Linked DNA regions of Homo sapiens: region 2 is linked to region 1. Evidence: promoter capture Hi-C in 16 types of primary human blood cells and fetal thymus (Javierre and others, 2016). All regions are on one chromosome and are shown on one strand. The core of a region is centred on a gene start or on the middle of the fragment in contact, and the rest is flanking DNA. Distances in the headings are between cores, read along the strand shown.

What was found. The method cuts DNA at HindIII sites, captures the fragments that hold promoters and counts their contacts. A CHiCAGO score of 5 or more calls a contact.
Region 2: a fragment that was not itself captured here is called in contact with the fragment with the promoter of OSBPL10-AS1 in region 1 in 1 of 17 cell types (non-activated CD4 T cells); the score reaches 5.1 in non-activated CD4 T cells.

The regions. Positions count from the first base shown.
Region 1 is chr3:31,700,719-31,707,362 of GRCh38, forward strand. OSBPL10-AS1 (OSBPL10 antisense RNA 1) reads left to right here and starts at 3,495. Exons shown (of 5, transcript NR_049771.1): 1 at 3,495-3,521. It overlaps OSBPL10 (oxysterol binding protein like 10), which reads right to left. Exons shown (of 12, transcript NM_017784.5): 7 at 1,641-1,790. LOC124909360 (a long non-coding RNA gene) reads right to left here and starts at 1,632. Exons shown (of 2, transcript XR_007095858.1): 1 at 1-1,632. The HindIII fragment of the contact is 3,023 bases long and covers 925-3,947 here.
Region 2 is chr3:30,029,765-30,036,408 of GRCh38, forward strand. No RefSeq gene overlaps it. Among named protein-coding and RNA genes, the nearest start is that of RBMS3-AS1, 99 kb to the left of the region's middle. The HindIII fragment of the contact is 2,068 bases long and covers 1,540-3,607 here.

The DNA of each region.
Region 1 (6,644 bases), core at 2,245-4,744:
TCATCAAACTTCAACTCAAGCTCTGTCTGGGTGTCTACACAATCCACAAGAATAAAACATGGGCATCTTTTAAAAGCCAAGCACTTAAATGACTCCTGTAGCTGAAAAAACAATAAGCATTATCCAGCTAGGGGACTGAGATGAAGGGAAGGCAGCAGCATGGAGAACAAGTCGTCATAGCTTGGTGTGCAAAACAGAAGCAGCCACACAGAGGGTGGAGGATGGTGAAGAAGGAACTTTCTATGTCTGGCGTCCTCAGTGTGGGCCCACTGTTTTGTTTAAAGTGGTGCAGTCTCCCAGAATATCAGACACGCTCACATTCAAACCCATGAAAACACTTCAAAGAAAAGATTTGTCTGTCATCTGAGAGGCTCCTATCTCCTCAGTCTCTCTCCTGTCTTCTATAAATGGTTAGTCACTCTGTTCTGTCATCTTCCTCCTCAAAGAATTCCTCACACTACTGCCGCTTCCCTCTCTCTTCTCTTGCCCCCTGCCTAGTCCGAGATGAGATTGTGGAATCCAGAGCCTCCACTGTGGCCAACCAAGCCAACTGCCCTTAGGGCTGTTCCCCAGGCTGTGCCTTCAGTGGCTCTGACATCCATATTTTTCTAGCTGGCCTTCAGAATCTAGAACTTCCTTCCCCAGCACACCCTCCCCGCAGATCATGTCTGTCTGTCTGTGTAACAGCTGCTTCTCTACCCTACCACAGTCGAACCACATAACATAGCATTTCGTAAGGATAAGATGGTGACGCACTTGCTAGGAGCTCAGCACTGGGTTAGGTCCTCCGCACGCCTCATGCGATTCTCACACCACCGTGCCAGGAAGGCTCCCAACTGGAGTAACTGGCTGGGAGTGGAGCCCAGGAAGGCTGAACTCCAGGCTCTTTCTACCACCTGACAATGGCCCCAGTGACACCACACAAGCTTTCAGCTACGTACAAAATTGCCTTTCCTGCTTGCCTCTAGAATGAAGCTACTGACTAGAGGTGAGGGGTGACGTATGTGGGACCCTCTCCATGACGTTAGTGGTCAGGACACTGGTTCTGTTGGTGAGGTTCCTCAGGAAGCATCCTGCCTGCACTCAGCACCAAGAAGAGTTGGTTCCACTTCTACCTATGGCAATGAGATTTGGATCAGCAACAAGGTTACCCTTGGGGACCAGCTGTTACAGCTAAGGACAGCCCTCAGAAGGTCGTGAGGTTGGGCGTGTAGAGTGGCGTCATTCCTGGTGCCACCATTTCCCTTCCCCATCTTTTCCCTCTATGGCCACTGTGCATAGCCATCTCTATAGGCCACCTACAGTTATCTCTAGAACATAGCAAGAAACAAAGAAATAGTACCTTGAATTTTCCATACCATCTCATATGCTTTTTCTGATGTTCTCCCTGCCCTTGTAGAGTAGCAACAACTCCTCCCAAGATCAAATGCAGGGCTGTCCAGCCCTGAGGATAACCATTTATGTACAAATGTCCTTTCAAATTATACCTGGAATATCCATACTTGAAAGCAATGCTGGCCTTTTTCCCCACTCTTCTTCTCCAATCTCACCACAACGAAAAGAATGTGCATAGAGAAGGCTTGAGGATAGAGACAGAACCCCAACAACTGACCACAAATCCAGGGGACATGCCAACCTACCTTGGTCAAATCCATTCCAAGTTTGAGTTGTGAAATGAGATGAAGAATTATACTACGCTGATCCTCCATGACGCCCAATTCCGTCTCTTCCTTATCTTCATTGTCACTTTTTTCATCTTCAGACAAAACCAATTCAGAGCCTGAGTTTGGCTAAAATGAAATAATCAATAAAAATCACCAGCTGGCCCAATAGAAGTTAGAAATAAAGTGTATGAATTCACATGCTTTGCAATGACAGAAGAAACCCAATCCTGTCCCGGGCAGAGCTCCTCTGTGACCCAGTCCTATTGGCCACGGGGCAGACAAGTCCCCTGGGGGTCGGACCTGTGCCTTGGACACTGCATATCCCCTTTCATCTCTCCCGTCATCCCTGATTAGTGAGTGTAAGGACTTCCCCTGACAAAACAGCTCCCTGTTCTTTAAGAAACTAACTATAGTATATGGGTATGAGCCCCCTTCATTTTGCCTATTAGCAAGTAGGAGTTTACCAAAGTTAGACTCCTGTTAACTTGCACAATCCAGGCCACTTCATATCTAATATAAATTTTTCTGTTTATAAGTAAAAGTTGGATTATCCAGGGACTAAAATTATTTATGGAAAAACGTGCTCTAAGACTATTTCTACCCAAATCAATTAGGATCACTCTAGCAGGTATAAGAAAATGCTGAGAATTGGCATTAATTTAGGGAGGAAGACAACAAATGAAAATTTAAGGCAAAACTGAAACTTTATGATACTACTGGGATTCACACTGGCCAACATACCCTGCTTTCCTCGATGCAAGTTTATTAATTCAATCACTCAATTCCAATTTTTCACATTACATAGAAAACAGGCAACTTAATAAACTGGGCAAGGGGATTATTGCACATAAAATTTTCCAGTATCCAAGTATTAAGGACTCTGGTTACAAGGTTAACTTGCCCTCAGAATTCTATTGAAAGAAGTATCCACATTCCACACTCCACATTTACCTATGTTCTTATGATGCTTGCTTACATATAAGCAAAAGCACTCTGCACAGAACATTATACATTTCTTTCCAATTATCAATAACAGGTCAGACATAATATACAGAAATTCAGAAGCTCAAAGATGTTAAACATGAAAGGATACAGACTTGTCCAAATGTCCATGCAAAAAACGAACAATTTACTAACCTCATTAGACAGAATCATCTTATATCTACAGGCACTTCTAACATACAAAGGTTATTTTAGTGGTCAAGGTGTTTAAAATTGTCTGGCCTTACATACCCACACGGACCATTCCTTTCCAACATTCCAAAGAGAGGTAATAACGGTGTTCCTTCCCTCCTGGGGTAGGCATTTTTAAAACTTCAACGTAAATAGACGTTTTCCACAGACATACTCCTAAGGTGTTCTCAATCAGCTCTAAATAACCCCAATTCTAAAGAGATGGTTGGGAAGATCTCAGTGAAGCCCACAGGATATTCCCCCAGCCAAAAGCTGAGTTTTCTTTTATTATGTGCCCAGTTCTCTAGCCACCTCATAATGGGTATTATCTGACGTCATTGGCAAGTTGCTTTGCTAGATTATGCTGAAATAATTGAGGAATCCTTACCTATGCTAACCCTGAGAGGAAGAGCCAGAGAGGGAAGTCTCTGAGCTGTGAGCTACCCTGATTCTACACTGGGAAGTTAGGGGTAGAAGCACACAGGAGCCCAGCACTTACAGCCAGTGGCCCTGGGGGTCTCCTCCAGCTCCACCTCATGACACCCCGTGCTGCTGCGTGACTGCTCCTGGTGCCAAGGCCACCGCTGCCATGAGTCTGAATGGCTAATGCTGAGATTAGCAGGGCCTCCCTTCTACTGGCCTGTCCTCCTGGCTCTCCTCCCTTTTGCCTCTTCTGGATTTCAGGTCAGTTTGAAAGTGGGTGGCTGTCTCAGCTCCCTGTGAGCTTCCATTTCCAGTCTACGCTACGGAAGTCAGAGAGCTCAGACACAAATCCCTCCCAATGGCAAAGGTGCTATAGCTGCAACTTCCTCTGCAGTGACCCGGTGGGCAGTAATCTGTATTAGCAGAATTCCTCTCATGCCAGCACCAGCTGGGGGAGGAGAGGGTAGTGCCTGGGCATTCTGCTTTGGGAAGAAAAAGGACAATCAAAACCAAGTGAAATCCAACCACCATGGTGTACCCAACAGGTGGAGTGGGCTGCAAAGTCCTTAAACATCTCAACAGGAGAAGTAGCTCCATTTTGCGGGCAATTATTTTCTGCTTGAAATTAGCTGTTCTCACCAAGAATGGACTGCATACTAAATCAATTGCTCCACTGAGGCTGCCATAAGCTTCATGAAGCAAAGAATGATTCATTCTTCTAAAGCTGTGATTTCCTATTTGCTCACAAGCCATTGCAGGGGAAATCCTCATCTTTCCCACTCACTGCTACACTCACTGTGATGTGTTTATAGACCTTCGGGGACCACACCTCCTCCAGCTGTCTGCCTTACTCGAAAATTAGACCCAGCTTGTCCCTGACTTCTAGTAGCCAGAAAGTCTTCCACAAGATCCAGCCGCATGATACGGAGTACACACATAAATGTGAAAACAAACCCCTCCATCCTTTCCCACTGTAAATCAACAGCACATGCCCTCTGTGTCTGACAATTCCTCTCAAAGACAGTGGCTCCAGCAGAGGAAATTAAGGCTGGTGCAGGTGCCCCAGAAGCTGAGTCATCCGGGATGACTGGTGGCCCTGAAGTCCCGCCCACAGAAGGACGGCCATGGGAGCCTGGCACACTGCCCCTTGGTGGCACAAATCCTGAGCAAGCCATGCCCTAACCTTAAACAAGGACCTAGGACTGTTTTCTCTCCCACAGCCTCTGAGAACTTGCCCTTTCTCTCCCAATGTGATTTGTAAACAATTCTCCTACCCAGCCTCAAGTAAATATCAGAGTTAAGCTGGTTTCATACACCATGTTGACAGTAAACATCTTAGAGGACACTTTCAATCCACCCACACTGCAGCTCAGTCCATCTGCACAAAGAGAAGACCCCCCCCCCCACCCCCATCGCGGTCCAACTTGGGGGTACATAGATGGAAAGGCAGCAGTAGTCAGCAGGTCAACTCTGTCTGAAAGAGGTCCATGGCAATGTAAATACCAATCTACTGGCAACCACAAAGCACCCACATAGACAGGCACTGCAAGGAATGGAGGGTTTGAAGAAGCAGGTCTTGATGGAGTTTTAAAGACACAAAACCTCCTTCCCTTTCAGGGTCAAGGGTTTGTTGATTCCGCTACTCTGATGTGGAATTCAAAGAGATGGATAATTATCATCCTTTCTAAGTGCTGTTTTCCATAATCAGGTCCCCGTGCTTATCCACATCCACACTCCCCTTCTCTCACAAAGTCCTACTTGTCTCCTGGGAGCCCCTGCACGCCTCCCCTCTCTGAATCTCTGCGAATTTTCACTTATAAAACAGTAACAACTCTCTCAAGGTCATCAAAAATGGCAGAACAGTGTTCCCCCATCTCTGAAAAATATGAATGTGAGAAACGGTTTCATACTGCTGAGAGAATTTATAAGACTTAAGCAGAAGAATCTTCAGATCCCCCATCCCCCAGAGATTTTTGCAAATGAGCCAGCCCAGCCACAAAAATGTATGCAAACTTGAAGATAAAATGGAATTAAAATATGTTTTAAAGAGAAGCAGGCTTTGGAAAAATGAGGATTTTAATAAAAACAGAAATTACGACAATATTTCTACCACACAAGCACCTCAGGGCATATGGTGCTACAAAAATCAAGCAACTGTGCCTATTAGCAAATGGGGAGAACGATAAGCGAAAAATCAATGGGCAGGAAAAAGCTTCACGGGCAGGCTGGGGTTTAGGGACATTCCCTGGTGACCCACAGTGACCTGTGCCCGGAGCAAGGGTTCTTGGCCTGGGTCACATGGACAGCCCTTAAGATATCCACCCCCATCCTTGAAATTTTATGCAAAAATTGTAAGTCTGGGCATTTTTCTGAAGAGGGGGTCCATAGCTCCCCTTGGATTCTTAGAAGGGTCTCTGCCCCTTCGCTGACCTCCAGCCTCTTGAGGACCAAAGGCTGAGACCATGTGAGAGATGGGGTCTTGGGCTGGGAATGGTCCAATCCAAGACAGTCACAGCATCTACAGATGTGACTCTGCCCTTAACCATGGGCCTCTGCTTCTTATCTAGTAAGGAGAAGGAGATATATGGGGCTATGCCACCGAGGCCAAAGCCAGGAGGCAAAACTGTGACGTGTGTTAGGTTTGTGTGGGTCCAACAGTCTTCTCAATGGGAACATCAATGTGGGAGAAACATTTAGCTTTGCTTTCATCTCTTAAACAAATATCTTAATTCTTCAATACAAATGCAGATTTCAAGCATGACTGAAATGCCAATCTTTTTATTCAATACATATATGTAATGTAACTACAGTTTGTGTCCCTCCCAGGAAAAAGCATGAAATAGACATTTGTCTGCAGAGTCCACTCATTTCCCTGTCACAGGCTTCGTTCACTCCACCCATGTCCCCAAAGGTACTCTCTTTCCTGGCACTTCACTCCTGCTTTCCCCTCCTCAGACAGATGACTCCCACCCCACCCCACCCTTCCTGCTTTAGTGAACTGCCTTCTCTCTTAACCTAGACCTGGCCTTCAGGTAGCTGGGGTCAACACAAGCAGTTTGATCTACTAACATCTCCTTTATTTGTACATGGCCTTATAACCTAATATCTTAATTCAGAGGACTGAATCCTCACTGGTTAGATTTGAGATATCATGGCAGAAGCCTGCGTGGTTCCATTACCTAACCATTAAAGATGCATTTTGCCTTTGGACAGGGAGCTTTTCTGTGCCAAACCAGGAATCACAGACATGCAGGGGCAAGAGGGTCTACTCTAGCACGGATTAAGACGACCTCCTAAAGCCATCTTATGCCCAAGTAAATAAGTATCCAATAAACAGACAATATCTCAACAGAAAAACAGCACCCACTGAACTCAAGTGACCTG
Region 2 (6,644 bases), core at 1,324-3,823, 1.7 Mb before region 1:
CACTAGCTGTTGTGTTCTTAACCTCAGAATCAGACAAACTGAACATTCAGTGCAGCCAACCACACATACAAACACACACATTAAAGCTAAATTTACTCTGTCCCTGTAGCATCCCCAAATGTGTATGAAGAAACCATTCTAGACATTTCTATCAGGGTCCGACCCCGCCCCGTACTAATTTTCAAGCTCTGAGACGAAATGAGAAGGCAACAGTGTGTAATTAGGGAAATCTATGATTTACACATTAATGAGCAAAGAAATGCAACCCACAGAGGGAAGAATGAAATTGTGGCCAGCTAATAAGTGTCTGTACTTATTAAGGCTAAAGAAACAACCTATGAAACAAATCTAAGCCTTTCCTAAACAGTGCAGGATAATTATATTTGGCATGAGTTCCACAGGGAAGATGCAGCTTCAGAAGCTTAAAGAACAGAGAAATGGGAAGAGGAGAGCCAGCTGAAGATATAAGTAAAACATTTTTCAGATATATCACAGATGAGGGAAAGGATAATGGTGAGAAAAAAAGACACTGAAGGCCATGGGGAAAAGGAGGAAAAATGAAATATGCCTTTTTAACCTCAGCCTTCATTCTGGAAGATGATGGGAAAATTTAAATTTCAAAGTCATCCACAAGAACTTGGAGAATAACCTTGATGGAAAATTTCTAGCAGGACTACCGAGATCTTTAATGCCAAAAATCAAAAGAAACAGATGAACAGTCCCTTGAAGAATTTATTCCTCTCCTGATGGTAACTTTGTTAAACACTGACTCTTATACTGGAAATGATGAAACAAATGTTATTTCTGCCTGTGAGAAGTTACAGTGGAGGGAAGAGTCTACAAACAGACATACTCATACACTGCAGCAGTCTATATATGCAAGGCCAGTAAAAACTCTGGGCCTTTTTCTCACTGGGAGCTTTGGGTTCAAACCCCAGATCCTCCATTTACTAAGAAATAAGTGACACCTTGAGGAAGACACTTTATCTTTTAGAATATCTGGTTACTTATCTTCAAAATGGAAATGATAATATGTCTAAGACAAGACTGTTGAGAGAATTAAATATGAGAGAGCCCAACTTGCAAACACATAATATTTATTTTTGTTTACTTTCTATCTGAATTAAAGCATTCTGCAAAGGGCCAAGTTTAAGGATGATGTCATGGACATTCACAATAGTAAATGTGCTTTCCTTACTATTTCCCTTCCTTCTTTTTCTCTATCCCTCCCTTTTTTCCTTTTAACATTACCAAAAATGTCATAATAATGAATACAATTGCTCTACTTGGAGAGCTCAGAGTGGAATAAACAGAATTGTAAATCATTTCAGAGCAATGCAGCAAATTTTGTAGCAAGGTGAATCATAGTTATTGGAGAAGAATTAAGAATGAGACCTCTAATTATGGGCAGAGGGAATGGAAAGTTAAAGCTCATGGTAGTAAAAGTGTCTGGTAAAGGGTTTATAGAGGCAGTGACATCCAAGATAAGTTCAGACGAGATCAGGTGCATTCAGGGTGGCATGGCTATACACCAAGATAAGCTTAGGATGCCCAAATGGACCTAGTTCTAGTTATTATCTTATCCCCAGTTCCTAGCACAGTGCCTGATACATAGTTGAAGGTTAATAAATTATAATTAAATGGATAAATGATGGTGGTGGACAAAGAGTAGATTGGGCTCTCTAGACCAATGATTATAAATCATGGCTGAATATCAGAAGAACCTTAGGAAATTCTAACACTATAGTTTTAGGATGAAGTCCAGGATGATGAATTTTCATAAAGCTCCACAAATAATTTTGTAATGCATGCTCATGTAAGAATCACTGTACTCAAAAGGGAGAATTGCACATGTTGAGAATCAGAGACCCAAGGCTGCTTATTACAGGTAGATCATTAAGAATGCATCAAGAAGTAGCCTAAGGCATTTGGGATAGAATTATCAACAAAGCAAAGGAAGTTCTTCTCTCCCACTTATGAGGGAGGATGGGACCTAAAAATATTTTTTTTCAGTTGATATATAGTAGTTGTACATATTTTGGGGGTACATGTGATATTTTCATGCGTATATACAATAATCATGTATGTAATGATCTAATCAAGGTAACTGGGATATCCATCACTGCAAACATTTATCTTTATGTGGGAACATTACATTCCTTCTAGCTATTTTGAAATATATAACAAATTATGGTTAACTATAATTTTCCTACTTTACTATCAAATACTAGAACTTATTCCTTCTGTCTAATAGTATTTTCATCCCCATTCACTAACTTGTCTTTCTCCTCCCTTCTCCCTTCCCTTTCCAGCCTCTGGTAACCACCGTTCTACTTTCTATGTCCATGAGATCCACTTTTTTAGGCCCCACACCTGAGGGAGAATATGAGATATCTGTCTTTGTATACCTGGCTTATTAAACTTAATGACCTCTAGTTCTATCTATGTTGCTGAGAATGACAAGATTCAATTCTTTTTATGGCTGAATAATATTTTGTTGTGTATATATGACACATTTTCTTTATTTGTTCATTTGTTGATGGACACTTAGGTTGATTCCATATGTTGGCTATTGTGAATTGTGCTGCAATAAACATGAGAATGCAGATCTCTCTTCAATATACAATTTCCTTTCTTTTGGATATATACCCAACAGTGAGATTGCTGGATCATATGGTAATTCTATTTTGTTTTTTTGAGAAGTTTTAATACTGGTTTCCATAATCGCTAGACTCTTTACATTTTGCTAGATGACTGGCCTCACCTGAATCTCCTAAAACCTAGTAACAAGGTCTGGTGTGCAGGTAGTTATATTTGGAGTTGATTCCTAGAAACAGGGCCAGAGAACGTGTAAAAGAAGGAGAAAAAAGGAGTGTGCTATTGAGTTGGCAAACAACATGGGCAACTTCATCTAAACAGACCTTCTGAGGAGCTTCCAAAACAACTTTCAGAATTTCCCACCAGATCATCTCGAAAAAGAAACATTTATCAACTCCAGTACCCACTGAAGGTTGCCCTAGGGTGTACTAACTCCTCTGTACTTCTACGTATGCCAAAAAGAGAAACCCTCAGCCGAAAAGCAAAAGATGTGCTATACACACTTAAGAGTGAGCTGCTAGGAGAGCAAGATGAGTTAAATTTCATATGGAACTAGGCAAAAGCCACAGTGGACATCAGAGATGAAGCTGAGGGGATGGAGGTAAGAGGGATACAGCAGGAATCTGGTACCTTGACCTTCAAGATTTATTTTAATAAATTATCTAAGCTCATTCAACTTATTTGCAGCACATGTTAAGAATTATTACCCCCTCATCAGAGCACATCCTTTAGTTGATGTATGTGTATTTAACCTATTATTTTAGAATTTGGCATAATTATTGGCTGTGTCCTCATCTGAATATATAGAATTTCTCACAACATCCTACTTTACATAGTAGGTAGGTCATCTATAATTGCTTGTTTAGAAAAATTATTTATGAAGATTTTGTTACTCTCTTTTGGCATCACACTACAAAAACATTTTTTTCCAGGTTTCATGATAAGTAATAAAATTACCTCATTCTATAAATGAAGATAATATTATATCTCAATCCACCATAATCAAATAAGCTTAAAGGCACCATTGGAAATACGGATATCTATATATATGGTGTTGCCAAGGAAGGTTGACTGAATGAAGTAGTATTCTGTTCATCTTAGTAAATTCTTCAAAATCCTTCCTCCAAACCTCAGGCTTTCATATGTAGGAACTCACTTTCTCAGTGCCTCAAATTTTATCAGGATCATGAATGCTAATCAGATATAGATAGATGTGTCAGCTTCTTGAATCAAAATCTACATGTATTTTGTTCGCTATGTATAAAGTATCCCCATGGCCTCAACTAAAATGCCTTCTGGGACTCGGCAGGGAATGTGAATAAGTGACATTATAGGAGTGCAGACCCAGTGGGAATTGGACAGTATATGCCCTATTTAAAGGCACCCAATTATTATTATTTCAAAATACTATGTGGCTAAATAAAGTAATGATAATAACAAAAACAATAAACTGTTATTGATGTTATCTAATAGTTGGTAGAAATAAACACTTTATTATTAGTATTATCATTATTATCATCATTATCATTATATTTTCATCTTATGTACTCTACTATTTGATTTATGAAATTTAAATATTATCCTTTGGCTCCCACATGTTATCTATTCAGCAACCAATACATTTATTCAATTTTCCTCTTTCTTCTTTTTTATGTTTATTTCTACTAGATCAGGTCACATAACCTTATGTACTCTTGTTCCTCCCTTGTCTTCAGCTTTGTTGTATTGCTAGATCTTAAAAAAATGTCTAGCCAATGTTTACTTTACTCCTTCTGTTCAGGTTTTTCTTGCCATATCCCCATTGGATGAAGGTCTTCCTTTGGTCCACCCTTCAAGAAAGGGTCTGGAGTATAATATCCCTCAAGTCTTTGAATGTTTAAATTTGCTTTCCTACAGTTTCAATACTTGAAAGACATTTGGCTGGATGTAAAATTGTGAGTCATATATCTTTTCCTTGAATTTACTGAAATTTCTTGTACCACTATTATTTATTTTGCTTATTACTGTCAAGATCCTACTGATCTTATGTTTCATAAGAAATGTGGTCTTTTTGGCACAGCGTGGTGGCTCCTGCTTATAATCCTAGCACTTTGGGAGCTGGGGCAGGAAGATCACTAGAGCTCAGAAATTTGAAACCAGCCTGGGTAACACAGTAGGAAGGAAGGAAGAAAGGAAGGAAGGAAGGAAGGAAGGACAGAGAGAGAGAGAGAAAGAAAGAAAGAAAAGAAAGGAAGGAAGGAAGGAAGGAAGGAAGGAAGGAAGGAAGGAAGGAAGGAAGGAAGGAAGGAAAAGAAAGAAAAGGGAGGGAGGGAGGGAGGGGAAAGAAAAGAAAAGAAAGGAAAGAAAGGGAAGGGAAGGGGAGGGGAGGGAAGGGAAGGGAAGAAAGAGAGAGAAAGAGAGAAAGAAAGAGAGAAAGAAAGAAAGAAAGAGAGAGAGAGAGAGAAATGTGGTCTTTTTATTCTGGAATAACCAATTTTTTTATTTCTATAGCATTAAAGCCTGTCAGTCTGTTCTCTAGGATGTGTCCCAACCTTGATTCTCCAGGAATATTGACCCCTTTCAATAAATAGATTGAGATTTTCTATTTCTGGAAAGTTTTCTTTGATTATAGTTTTAAATAGTTAGTTTTAAACATTAGTTTGTTTCATTGTTTTTCTTGGATCTTCTGCCTATCTTCTGTATCACTTTATCACTCTTTCTTTTTCTCGTCTGCTTCATTCCTCTCCTTAATGTCTTTTCTATTTTAGTTGATACTTCACTACCTAGGTTACTTGTCATTTTGTCTTTTTTTTCCCCTTTTGGAGACAAGGTCTGGCTCTGTCACCCAGGCTGGAGTGCGGTGGCGCGATCTTGGCTCACTGAAACCTCTGCCTCCCTTCAAGCAATTCTTGTGCCTCAGCCTCCCAAGTAGCTGGAACTACTGGCAACCGCCATCACGCCTGGCTAGTTTTTTGTATTTTTAGTGGAGATGGGGTTTTGCCATGTTGGCCAGGCTGGTCTCGAACTCCTGACCTCAAGTGATCCACCCACCTTGGCCTCCCAAACTACTGGGATTACAGGCGTGGACCACTGTGTTCAGCCTTGTCATGTTAGTCTTTATTTCTGAGATAATGTTGAATTTTTCTTCAATTTACTTCCTAGGATTTGTCAACACTCATATCACATCTTCCTATTTTGGCCCATTTCTAGTCTGAATTTTTGTCTAATTTAAGGTCTTTCATATTTACAAGTGTTCGTTTAAAGATATTTAATTTATATCAGAGTACTGTTTTACAAGTTTTCCATTTTATGATTTCACATGCAGGTGACATAATTTTAATTAGCTGAGGAGTTTTGATGTTCATATTCTGTTTTCTTCTTACAGTAGCTTTATATTGTTATTGCTTGCCATTTTCTGTTTGTTTTTAAATGTCCTAAATTTTCCTGGGTGAATAATAGCATGAGTTTCTGTGTTGGGAGTCTGGGATTTAGGTGGTTTATCAGGTTTCTTAGTTCAAGAATGTACTTTTTGGTTGGCACAGTGAAACGCAGGTTGTTAAATGTAGTGTTTGTGAAATAGAAGAGGGCTGTGTGTTTCGATTCTGTAATTTTCATGTTTCTTTTAGACCCTTAATTTATAAACTTGCTTTGTTCTTTCCCTTCACTGCCAAGCCTCCAAGGGAAGACTTTCCCTATTAAGATAGCTCATCTCTTCCAGAAAGCATTACTCTTGCAAGACTAATACTTGTGGTCGTAGGCACATCCAAATCCTTTCCATTTGACCCGCCCTACATTAGTTACCATCTATTGCTGTATAATAGATCATCCTGAATCGGGTGCCTTAAAGCAAGAAACAATTATTATACCACAGTTCCTGTGGGAAAGGAACTTGGAAAGCAGTTTAAGGGGGAGATTTTGGCTCAGGGCCTCTCATGAGGTGGCAATGAGATGTCAGCCAGGGCTGCAGTCACTTAAAGGGTTGACTATGGCTGAGGGATTCTCTTCCAAGCTGTTGGCAGGAGACCTCTGTTCTCTGGATGTTAGCTGGAGATCTCAGTTCCTCTTCA